Linked DNA regions of Homo sapiens: region 1 is linked to region 2. The links are contacts of gene promoters, found by promoter capture Hi-C in human tissues and cell types (Jung and others, 2019). All regions are on one chromosome and are shown on one strand. Each heading gives the region's core, a stretch centred on a gene start or on the middle of the fragment in contact. The rest is flanking DNA. Distances are from core to core; before and after follow the strand shown. Region 1 overlaps LINC00367 (long intergenic non-protein coding RNA 367). Region 2 holds the start of IL17D (interleukin 17D).

What was found. The method cuts DNA at HindIII sites, captures the fragments that hold promoters and counts their contacts. A contact is called where the count stands out against the background at its distance.
Region 1: a fragment that was not itself captured here is called in contact with the fragment with the promoter of IL17D in region 2 in 2 of the 25 tissues and cell types used here (H1 embryonic stem cells and IMR-90 fibroblasts).

The regions. Positions count from the first base shown.
Region 1 is chr13:20,936,091-20,941,302 of GRCh38, reverse strand. LINC00367 (long intergenic non-protein coding RNA 367) reads left to right here. Exons shown (of 6, transcript NR_104058.1): 5 at 1,368-1,440; 6 at 2,653-2,739. Among named protein-coding and RNA genes, the nearest start is that of LINC00367, 11 kb to the left of the region's middle. RefSeq lists an enhancer at 1,204-1,703. The HindIII fragment of the contact is 3,224 bases long and covers 1,631-4,854 here.
Region 2 is chr13:20,702,343-20,708,334 of GRCh38, reverse strand. It overlaps IL17D (interleukin 17D), which reads right to left and starts at 4,636. Exons shown (of 2, transcript NM_001385224.1): 1 at 4,044-4,636. The coding sequence starts at 4,333. RefSeq lists silencers at 3,815-4,324, 4,615-4,754, 5,175-5,254. The HindIII fragment of the contact is 9,244 bases long and covers 2,197-5,992 here.

The DNA.
Region 1 (5,212 bases), core at 1,993-4,492, 230 kb before region 2:
GGTTTCACCATGTTGGCCAGGCTGGTCTTGAACTCCTGACATCAAGTGATCCACCCACCTCGGCCTCCCAAAGTACTGGGATTACAGGTGCGAGCCACCGCACCTGGCTGGAACAAAATTTGGCAACAATTTCTACAGAAACAATTTAAAAATGGGACAAACAGTTATGCACAAAAGTATTTCCCTTAGCACATCTATACTATAGTATCTTTAAACGCAATTACACATTCAATACTATGATGACGGTTACAAATATTTTATGACTCTATGCCATACTGTCACATTTTATGTAATCAATAAAAATTCCATATTCAAAAAGTTTTTAATAAAAAGCAAAATTATCACTATATAATGTTAAGTAAAGGGTGAAGGATACAAACTGTACGATCTCAGTTTTTTGTAGCAAGAAAAAGAAAAAAATAAATATATCAAAAATTTTACATGTCTGAAAGGAAATACGGCAAAGTTTTAAAAAATGGTGACCTCTTGTAGGTGATACAATTGTGGGTGATTTTTTTCTTCCTGATTTTTTTTTTTTTTTGAGACTGAGTCTCAGTCTGTCGCTAGGTCAGATTGCAGTGGCGCGCGCCACCACGCCCAGCTAATTTTTTGTATTTTTAGTAGAGACTGGGTTTCACCATGTTGGCCAGGCTGGTCTCGATCTCTTGACCTTGTGATCTGCCCACCTCAGCCTCCGAAAGTGCGGGGATTACAGGCATGAGCCACGGTGCCCAGCCTTTTCTTCCTAATTTTAAACATCTTCTGTATATTTCCAAATTTTCTACAGTGTAAGTGTGATATTTTACAGCACGATTATTAGAAGGTAAAAATGGGTGAGGCTCTAGGATTTCGAAGGTCACTTTCAGCTCTAAAATTCCTTAATTCACACAGCTCTTATCACTATGGTTTGTTTGTTTTTTGACTTTCCACTGATAGTAACAGAAGAGTATATTACACATTTCCTAATAGCAATGTTATGCATGTCATTGCCTGAGATTCCTAAATCTTGTGCAAGATTTCAACATTATCTGTAGAACTTAAGTGCTAGATTGTGATCTTTTATGAAGTTTTTGAGTGTTGTCAACAGACTGAGTGTTCAGATGAAAATGCCGGGAGAGGACAATACTCGTAAATGTGCATTTCTACATTTAGATATAGCACATTAGTTAGTGCTTCATCATTCAAGAGACATTTAAATTTTACTACATTATAATAACATTCTTAAGAGTTTCCTTAAGACAAGGAGATAAACTCAGTTATTGCTAAGCAAGAATCTGCTGAAACAGTAAACAAACAGGTATAAACAAGTGCATTTGAGTGTGTGGCCACATGCCTGTCACTCCCAAATTCTTGTCCTTTGTTCCCAGCTGGGGAGAAGGTAAACAGAAATGGAGAATGAGGAGTCTCAGCTCCTGGCCTCCGGCCTGCTCAAGCGAAGGGGTAGGAGATCATCCCGCCACTTGCCAGGGATATTTTGGGGATATATCTGACACTGGGTCACATGCACTAGTTGGCCTGCAACAAATCTCAGTCTCCCAGCCAGTCGGCAGCAGATCAGGCACTCCTGTCTTTGAGCCACTGTGGAAGGAACTAGCCTGGGCAGCTCCTCAAAGGGGCTCTTGCTCACATCAAAGCTGGACAGTCAGCCCCTGGTGGGCTTCAGATTCAAAGACCCCTTCTGCCCCCCATCCTTGACTGTTGCCCCTCACAGTGGTCTCACTCTTTCCTTCTTAATCAAGTATGTGGGGCCCCTTTTGGGACAAGCATCCTGGATCAGGACCCAGGCTTTTGGTGACCCAATCCAACGATTCCTGACTCATCGCCTTCTGTCCCATAGGCTTGCATTCCTCCATGAGAAATCCCCTTTGCGTCTTCTTTCAGAACTAAACTTTAGATAACTCCTTAAAACCAGAACCCAAATCTTAGCACTATCACCCACTCCCCGCAAAGGGTTACTCTCTACCCCTGAGCAAGGATGGCTTGGTCGGGGGGCATGCCCCTTGCTTTATGGTGGATTGTTACTTTTCATGCAGGGAAAAAAATAAAACGAAACATTAGTGTTTTCATTTAAAAACAAGTTGAACAGTCGTCTCCTGTAAGAGAATCCTGGAGCCCCAGACACACCTAGAAACACAAGTCTGTGCAAAAATACAATGTGTAGATTTATGGAAATGCACATGATGTGAAAAGTCCCTAACGGATGTGTATAAAAATTCGACTTTTTTTTCTTTGAGTCTCACTCTGTCACCCAGGGTGGAGTGAGTGCAGTGGGGCAATCTCGACTCACTGCAGCCTCCGCCTTGTGGGTTCACACGATTCTCTTGTCTCAGCCTCCTGAGTAGCTGGGACTACAGGCGCACGCCACCATGCTTGGCTAATTTTTATATTTTTAGTAGAGACGGGGTTTCACCATGTTGGCCAGGCTGGTCTCAAACCCCTGACCTCAGGTAATCCACCCACCTCGGCCTCCCAAAGTGTTGGGATTTACAGGCATGAGCCACCACGCCCGGCCCAAGTCTTTTTATTCAACACCTCATTTTATTCTTATGCACTGAATGCCACATTGGTTTCTTTTTTCTCTCTCTCTCTCACTCAAAGCACTATTATTAAATCCATGATGCAGCTTACTTTCAACATTATCTTCAAATTTAGGAAATACCATTGTATCATAAGCAGTGGTAATTCCCGTCTGCCAGGTGTCTACCGGGTGAAGGGGTCTTGCTCTGTGCTGGGTGCTCAGAGCCATCCCTGCCCATCTTCGTGCTAATGCCTGGAGGCAGCCACATTAGCTCCACCTCCTGGCTTGGGAGCTGAGGCTCAGAGAGGACAACTAATCAGCCCAAGGTCCCAAGCTAATATGTGGCACACGGAGATCTCAAACCCAGCATGAGGTAGGTACTGTGACCCCTATTGCACAGATGAAAAACAGACATACCGAGATGACGGGAACTCACTCAGGGCACACAAATGATAAGTGGCAGAGAAAAGATTGGAATCAAAATCCTACAAAAATCCTACAAAATTGAGGTGAGGCACAGTGGCTCACACCTGTAATCCCAGCACTTTGGGAGGCCGAGGTGTGTGGATGATCACTTGAGCCCAGAAGTTTGAGACCAGCCCGGGCAACAAAGTGAGACCCCTGTCTTTACAAAAAAATTTAAAAATTAGCCAGATGTGGTGATGTGCCTCTGTAGTCCCAGCTACTTGGGAAGCCAAGGCAGGAGAATCTCTTGAGCCAGAGAGGTCAAGGCTACAGTGAGCTATGATCACACCACTGCACTCCAGCCTGGGTGACAGAGCGAGACTCCGTCTCAAAAAAATAAAAAAAGAAAAAAATAAATAAATAATTAAAAAAAAAAAAAAAAAAAAAGTCTGGGTGCGGTGGCTCACGCTTGTAATCCCAGCACTTTGGGAGGTGGAGGCGGGCAGATCACGAGGTCAGGAGATCGAGACCATGGTGAAACCCCATCTCTACTAAAAATATAAAAAATTAGCCGGGTGTGGTGGTGGGCGCCTGTAGTCCCAGCAACTCGGAGAGGCTGAGGCAGGAGAATGGCATGAACCTGGGAGGCGGAGCTTGCAGTGAGTCGAGATCACGCCACTGCACTCCAGCCTGGGCAACAGATCGAGACTCCGTCTCAAAAAAAAAAAAAAAAAGAAAATTTAGGACACTTTGAAAACACAGTGAACAGACACCTATAGTAATCATTTTCCCTGTCACTAAAACTCATAAAACAATGGCTTTGAATGGCTATATGATATTCCATTATGATGATATAGCCCAAATTAATTAACCATTTACTTGTTATTGGAAATTTAGGTTATTTCCTATTTTAAATAATTTAAAATGTAAATATACCTTGTAAATAACATCATATTGCATATCTTTATACATGATCTTTTTCTTTTCCTTGTATAAGCTTTATCATGAGTACATAATCTTTTTCTGCATCTTTAATTATATTCTTAAGAACATTTTTAATGCTCTTGTTATATATTTCCAAATTGATTTCCAGTGTATACTCCCAGGAGAGGGTTAATTTCATGGTTCCTCTTGTGAATGTTATCTTTATTTTATTCTTTAAATATTTCTTTTCTGTATTTTGAATAAATGTACAACAGAATGTTATGTGGATTTTCTTTTTTCCCATGTTCCAGAATTGCAGCTGAAACCAAAAGCCCTGGACAAAAAATGTGAAGTGTCTGGGAACCTTAGAGACCCCTCTGGGCTTTCCGAGAAAGGCAAGATCCGCAATCAGCTCTCCAGCCTTCTCACCTCCCCAGCCAACAGAAACTCTTCTGTCTCCTGGTTGGACTTGGGCTCAGCCTCAGCTGTTGATTAGGACAACTGTGTCCCCCAAGCAGGGGAAGAAACCTTGGAAGAGATGAAGAACAGGGAGTGAGTAAGAGCGTGTCAGTTGAGTGACCGTGAAGACAGTGGGAATGGAGGCAGCTTACCCATGTCGGGCAGATCCACTCCTCCCAGAACCCTCCCAAAAGCCCCTCCACATGCACCTATGGAAGTTCCAGTATTTGAGGGGTCGCCTCACATAGCCCATGTCAGTTAGCATTAGCCACAGAGGCAGGGACACTCACAAGAACCTTGCTGCCAGCTTTGCACAGGGAACTTACCATGAGGTGATGAAGTTTAAGCTCAGTGCCCTTCACCTGGATAATCTATGTTAATACTCAAAGGTGTCCAACATTTTTTTGAGACTAAGTCTTGCTCTGTCACCCAGGCTGGAGTGCAATGGTTGTGCGATCTCAGCTAACTGCAACCTCTGCCTCCCGGGCTCAAGCAATTCTCCTGCCTCAGCCTCCCAAGTAGCTGGGATTACAGGCACCCACCACCACGCCTGGGTAATTTTTTTTTTGTATTTTTAGTAGAAATAGGGTTTCACCATGTTGGCCAGGCTGGTTTCGAACTCCTAACCTCAAATGATCCTTCCGCCTCAGCCTCCCAAAATGCTGGGATTACAGGTGTGAGCCACCATGCCCGGCCTTTTTTTTTTTTTTTTTTTTTTTTTTTGAGACAAGGTATCACTCTGCTGCCCATGCTGTAGTGCAGTGATGCGATCATAGGTCAATGTGGCCTCCACCTCCTAGCCTCAAGTGATTCTCCTGCCTCGGCCTCCCAAAGTGCTGAAATTACAGGCATGAGCCACTGTACCTGGCTATTTTTTTCACTCTCTCTATTTTTTTTTAGACAAGA
Region 2 (5,992 bases), core at 3,387-5,886:
TTCCAAATGCCTATTGTAAAACTTATCCACCTAAAGTGATCCTTGCTGTGCCCATCAGTACTCCTGACGTTCAGTCCATCTCCCTATCTGTCTTTCTCAGCATTCTCTCTGACTGCTGTGCCTTTAGGGCGTGGTGGCTTGGGCCTGTAATCCCAGCACTTTAGGAAGCCAAGGCAGGCAGATCACTTGAGGCCAGGAGTTCGAGACCAGCCTGGCCAACATGGCGAAACCCTGTCTCTACTAAAAATACAAAAATTAGCTGGGCGTGGTGGCATGCACCTGTAATCCCAGCTACTCCAGAAGCTGAGACAGGAGAATTGCTTGAACCCAGGAGATGGAGGTTGTAGTCTGCCAAGATCATGCCACTGCATTCCAGCCTGGGTGACAGAGCAAAACCCTGTCTCAAAAGAAAGAAAGAAAGAAATACCACCTGACCCTGTGCCCAGCCTGCAGGTGGGCACTCCTCTACCCAGGCCCCACCCTCAGACACTCCACCAAGGAACAAGCCCTGGCCTGGCACCATGGCTTACGCCTGTAATCCCAGCACTATGAGAGGCTGAGACAGGAGGGTCACTGGAGCCCAGGACTTCAAGACGAACCTGGGCAACAAAGTGAGGCCCCCATCTCTAAAAAACAAAACAAAAAAACTAGCTGCATGTGGTGGTGCGCACCTGTGGTCTCAGCTACATGGGAGGCTGAGGTAGGAGGATCCCTTGAGCCTAGAAGGTCAAGGCTGCATTGATCTGTCTGTGTCACTGCACTCCAGGCTGGGTGGCAGAGCGAGATTCTGTCTAAAAGAAAAAACCTGTCCTTCCACAACATCTTTTAGTAGAGGCTCCACACTTCCATTGGCTCACTATTTCTTTTCCTTTTTTTTTTTTTTTTTTTTTTTTTGAGACAAGTTCTCACTCTGTTGCCCAGGCCGGAGTGCAGAGGCACAATCATAGTTCACTACAGCCTCAGCCTCCCTGGCTCAAACTTCCCAAGTAGCTGGGACCACAGGCAAACATGACCACACCTGGCTGTTTTTTTTGTAGTGATAAGTCTCATACTATGTTGCCCAGGCTGGTCTCAAACTCCTGGGCTCAAGTGATCCTCCCACCTCCGCCTCCTGAGTAGCCGGGGATTTACAGGTGAGCCACTGGGCCTGGCTGGGTCTCACTTTTTCTAATCTTCCCAATAACCCAAAAGATGGTGAGAGGTGATTGGAGGGAGGAGGGCAGAGAGGGCTCTCCTGGCAGGAAAATGCAGGAGCAGCTTTGGCAGTCAGCAATCTGGAGTCCCAGCCCAGCAGCCATCCCCTGAAGACTGTCCTTCCTTCAGCAAATATAAGCCACCCACCTCCGTTTGCCCATGGGGAGTGATCTCATCACTGTTGCTAAATAATATGAAAAATGATGCACATGACACCTTCAGCCACCCTGCTGCAGCTGCCACTCCTGCTCCTGGGACCACCCAGCACTGAGGTTCCACATGTGGGCAGATCTGGGTGGCCCAGACCACGATCCCCGAACCCTGTGTGTCATTCTCATCCATAACCTCCCTCGGCTCCCAGATCCTGCCTGGGGCGACATAGGTGTCATCTGTAGCAAGGGCAACTCAATTTAACTTCCCACACACAGAATGCCAGTGCTGCTAACTCTCCATGTGTCCTCCAGCCCTGCTCTGTCTCCTGAGCTCCAACCAGTCATTGTCACCTGTACGCCTTTCAGGCAGGCAAAACTCAACAGGCTTGTTACTAAATTCATTATTTCCTCCCACAACACTTGTTCCTAAGTGTATTTTCTCATTTTGCTCAAATACCATCAACAACCCAAGCCAGAAACATGAGAGACATGCCTTTGGGAGGCTATATACTACTCTTAGGCCCTTGGCCCAGCCTGTGGGGAGCCACGGGTTTGCCTGAGAGTTCGAATCTGCTATAGAAAGCAGGGCCAGCAGCTTCTGTCCAGAGAAGTTAATCTCTGGTTCTGAGAGATTCCTTATGTGGCTTTAATCCTATTTGGTATATCAGAAGCATAACACGAGGTTAGAGAAAGAAGAATGCCGTAGTCCATCCCTTCAGGTCCTGGAAATGGAGGAAGAGAGAGGAAAAGCAAGAGCACCAAGATACCAGAATGAATGGCGCCATGTGTGTGCCCTGCAGGCTCCAGCTGAAGGACAGGAGTGAGAAGGGCGGGAGGGGTCCCACCCAACTTCCCCGTGGGCAGGGGCTCTGAGGGGGCTCTGCCACAGTGAGCTTGGTCCTCTGCAGAGTAGCCAGGAGGCAGGAGGCCCTAAAACTTGGCTTCCCAGGACAGCATAGGGGTCCTGTGTGTTGTTGAGTAAAAGGAAATCTCCCTACCCAGCAGCCGGCAGGGAGAGGCTCCAGGAAAGCCCAGATGCGTTTTAGACAAAATCATCACATTTCCTCTGACTCTCCACAGCACTTGTCTTCTTTAATGAGCATCTTTCACGCTGATCCTAGTCTCCCCTTCCCACCGCGCTGCCTGAGTGAAGCCCTAGATCCTTTGGATGGAAGTGCTGGAGAGCATTGTCCAATCCATGCCCCATTGGGACACCCTCCTAAACCAGAGTGGCTGTATGGCTTCCTCCATCTCAAGTGTCAAGACTTTTTTTCTCTTTAATTTTTATTTTAGAGACGGGGTCTCGCTTTGTCACGCAGGTTGGAAGGCAGTGGCGCCACCACAGCTCACTGCAGCCTGAACCTCCCGGGCTCAATCTATCCTCCCACTTAAGCCTCTGGAGTAGCTGGGACCACAGGCACGTGCCACCACACTTCGCTAATCCTTAAAAATTGTTTGCAGAAATGGGATCTCGCTATGTTTCCCAGGCTGGTCTCGAACTCCTGGACTTAAATCCTCCTGCCTCGGCCTCCCAAAGTGCTGGGATTCCAGGCGTGAGGGTGAAGCTCTGCACTGCTGACAAGGCGGGGATCCAGCTCCTGCACCTGTCTCCAGCCTTACATCGATGCCCACCCCACAGGCAAACACCTCGCCTACGCCCCCCCACCCCCACCGCCCCCGCTCGCCTTGTGGCTCTCCCCATTTTCCAAGCGCTTTGTTCCCGCTTGCTATCAGCTGTCCCTTCCCTCAGCACTGCCTTTGTAGGCGACTTGCTCTCCTCCATCAAGACTCAGCTCTTTCACGAAGCCTTTCTTGACCTCTGTGGCCCTGGGAGGCCTTGCCCCCTAGGGCAGCTCCTCCTGCTCCAGCTAGAGGGAAGACGGTCACAGGTGCCTGCTGAGGACACTGCGGCACCCTGCCTACACGCCCCCAACTTCTCCAGCCTTCCCCTTCTGCAGGCTGTCCCTTTCTTCTGAAATGACCTCTGTTCCAAGACCAAAATACTCTCGAAACTGTTCATGTCACTTCATGCACTGCCTGATGGTGTGGTTTCTTTCCCAATTATCCCCACTCCTTCCTTAGGCTATTAAACTAGAGGGGCTCAGAGGGCGCTTCCCAGGGCTCCACTCCAGCAGCCTCTGGACCACAGGGGCACTCAGGAAATATGTGGATAGTACCGCGCACCCCCCAGCAGCACCTCCCCGGGCCCCCTGTGCAGAGTACGGTCCACATCACTGTGTCCACATCACGGAAGGGTCCCCAGCTAGTGCCTTGCGGACCCATCCAACCTGGAGGAGATGAGGTGTTCAAGAGATACGTGTTGCATAGGAAATACTGGAGGGTAAAGAGAGGAAGCAGGACTCCTTCAAGGGAGGTGGTGGGGGTGGGCCTTCGCAGTTTAGGAATTGCCCCCCAGTGCTCCAACTGCCCCGCCCCACCCCGCCTCATCGCAGCGCCCCTCGCACCCCACCCCACCCTACCGTACCCTACCCTGTCTCGCCCCGCACCACCCCACCCCTACCTGCTCCGCCTCGCCCCGCGTGCCACGCCCCCTCCGCGTCGCCCCGCCCCAACCACCTCCCCTTCCCCGCCCCACCCTCCCCGCCTGCCCGGCCTCGGCCCGGCCCCACCCACTCTCCCCGCCCAGCCCTGCCCTCCCCACCTGCCGGGCCCCGCCAGGACGCGCCCGCGGCTCACCTGTAGGCCCAGGGCGACACGCTGCGCAGGTTGGTGGGCGGCCGGAAGCGGCGGTCGGCGGGCCTGCCCCCTGCCGGGCAGCTCGCGTTGCGCGCCTGCTCACGCGGCCCCAGCTGCAGCGTGTGGTGGAAGGCACTGAGCACGCCGGCCGCCAGGCGCCCGTACAGCTGCTCCAGTAGCTCCTCCGGCCGGTCCGCGCAGCCCCGCGGCCGCGCGGGGCGCCTGCCCGCCCTCGGGGCGCCCGCGGCCCAGCTCGGCGGCAGCGCCAGCAGGAAGCCGGCTACCAGCATCCAGACCTGAGGGACAGGCCACGCTCAGCGTCCGCACGCGCCGGAGGAGCCCGCCTGCGCCCCGCGCCCGTGTCCCGCCCGCGGCGCCCGGAGCCGGCGGGCGCCTCCCCTCGCCCCGCGGAGCCAGAGGCCGGCCCGGAGGATGGGAGCCGCGCGGGCGGGCCCCAGAGCGCCCTCCCCGCCTGCCCGCCGCCCGCGGGGTCCCCGGGGCCCAGCCCGGCGCCGGCCCGCGCGCCCCCGGCCCCCGCCGCCGCCGCCGCCCCGAGCCGGGGGCCGCACGGGGGGCGGGTGCGGGGCGCGCGTGCACGTGTGCGTGTGCCTGCCGGGTTGCTGCGCCGCGGGCTGCGAGTGCTTGTGACCCGCCGCACCCTCACCCCCGGGCGCGCCATCCCTGCTCCGCCGCCAGCGAGGGAGCCCCGGAGCCTAAGACGCCCGGACCCGCCGCCTCGCAGACCCACCCTTGCCCCTGCGCCTCGTCATCCGCCCGCCCCAGCCAGCCCGCGCAGGGTCCGCGGCCCGCTTTTCCGCGAGAAGCCCCCTGTGGTCTTTCCTCGTACCCGGGGACTCGGACCGAGAAGCCGACTGAGCGAGGTCGCCGCCCGGCCTCACGGACACAGAGCGACTCTGCACCTTTCGCCTCCAGGAGCTGAAAACATTTTGTCACTTGTGCAGTGTACTCACCAGTGCCCCCAACATCTTCTCCCCCGAAAGCGCTTTCAGATTCGCGCCGAGATGGGGCGACGCGGCGGCTCTTGAGCGGAATAACCCGAAGGGCCACGCAAACTGGGGCTTCCAGCCGCGAGCATGCGGCGGGGCGCCCAGGGCCTGGGGTCGCGCGCTCAGGGCCTGTGCTGCGCCACGCAGGAGGAGGAGAGGGCTGGCCCTGCCGGGCGCGGGTGCGGGCCCGACTGGCTGAAGGAGGAGTGGGGACTGGCTTGGAAGTCTCCGAAGCAGAAAAGTGGGGCCGACAGGATGGAATTGGGGGAGGCCGATTTTGGCTCAGAGAGATTTCTCTATTAAGGAAAGCAGTCCAAGAATAGGCCCCCTGGAAGAGGAATGCGCTCAAACCCAGAGGGATTCTCCTTAGAGCTACCTCTTGAGATTCTGTACTTCGAGGAAATTAGAGGTTTTTTTAAATCTCTATTTTTAATAAGGTGGGAGGAGGCTGTTGCTCCTTTCTCCTCAACAACATGAAATGATCCTGTGCCTCTATCCAACAACTCTACAACAAAGCACTGAATACTTCCCTGACTGGCACTTTCATGGCTGTTCATGGGCATCTCTTGGTCTATGACGACGATGTTGGAGAGTTCCTACTCCGTGATAACTCAGTTCTAAGTGCAAGCAGTCACGTGAAATGAGCCTGATAGTCTGCGAATGAAGAAACTAAAACGAACTATATTATATACTTCATAACACAAGACAACGTGCTCGTTTGTTCATTCTGCAAGTAAATGCTTAATGCTTCCTAGGTGGCAGGCTAAAGAATATGATCATTTTAAAGCAGTCATGCTTTGAAAATAAACAACCCATCCCAGCTGTAAGCTTTTTGAAAGTGTACAAAATATGTAATTGATGACTCCCTAAATGGTTTGCAGCTTTGGTATTTGACTGAATTGTAAACCATTAGTTAAACTACATTTCAGTTATGCTTTGTAG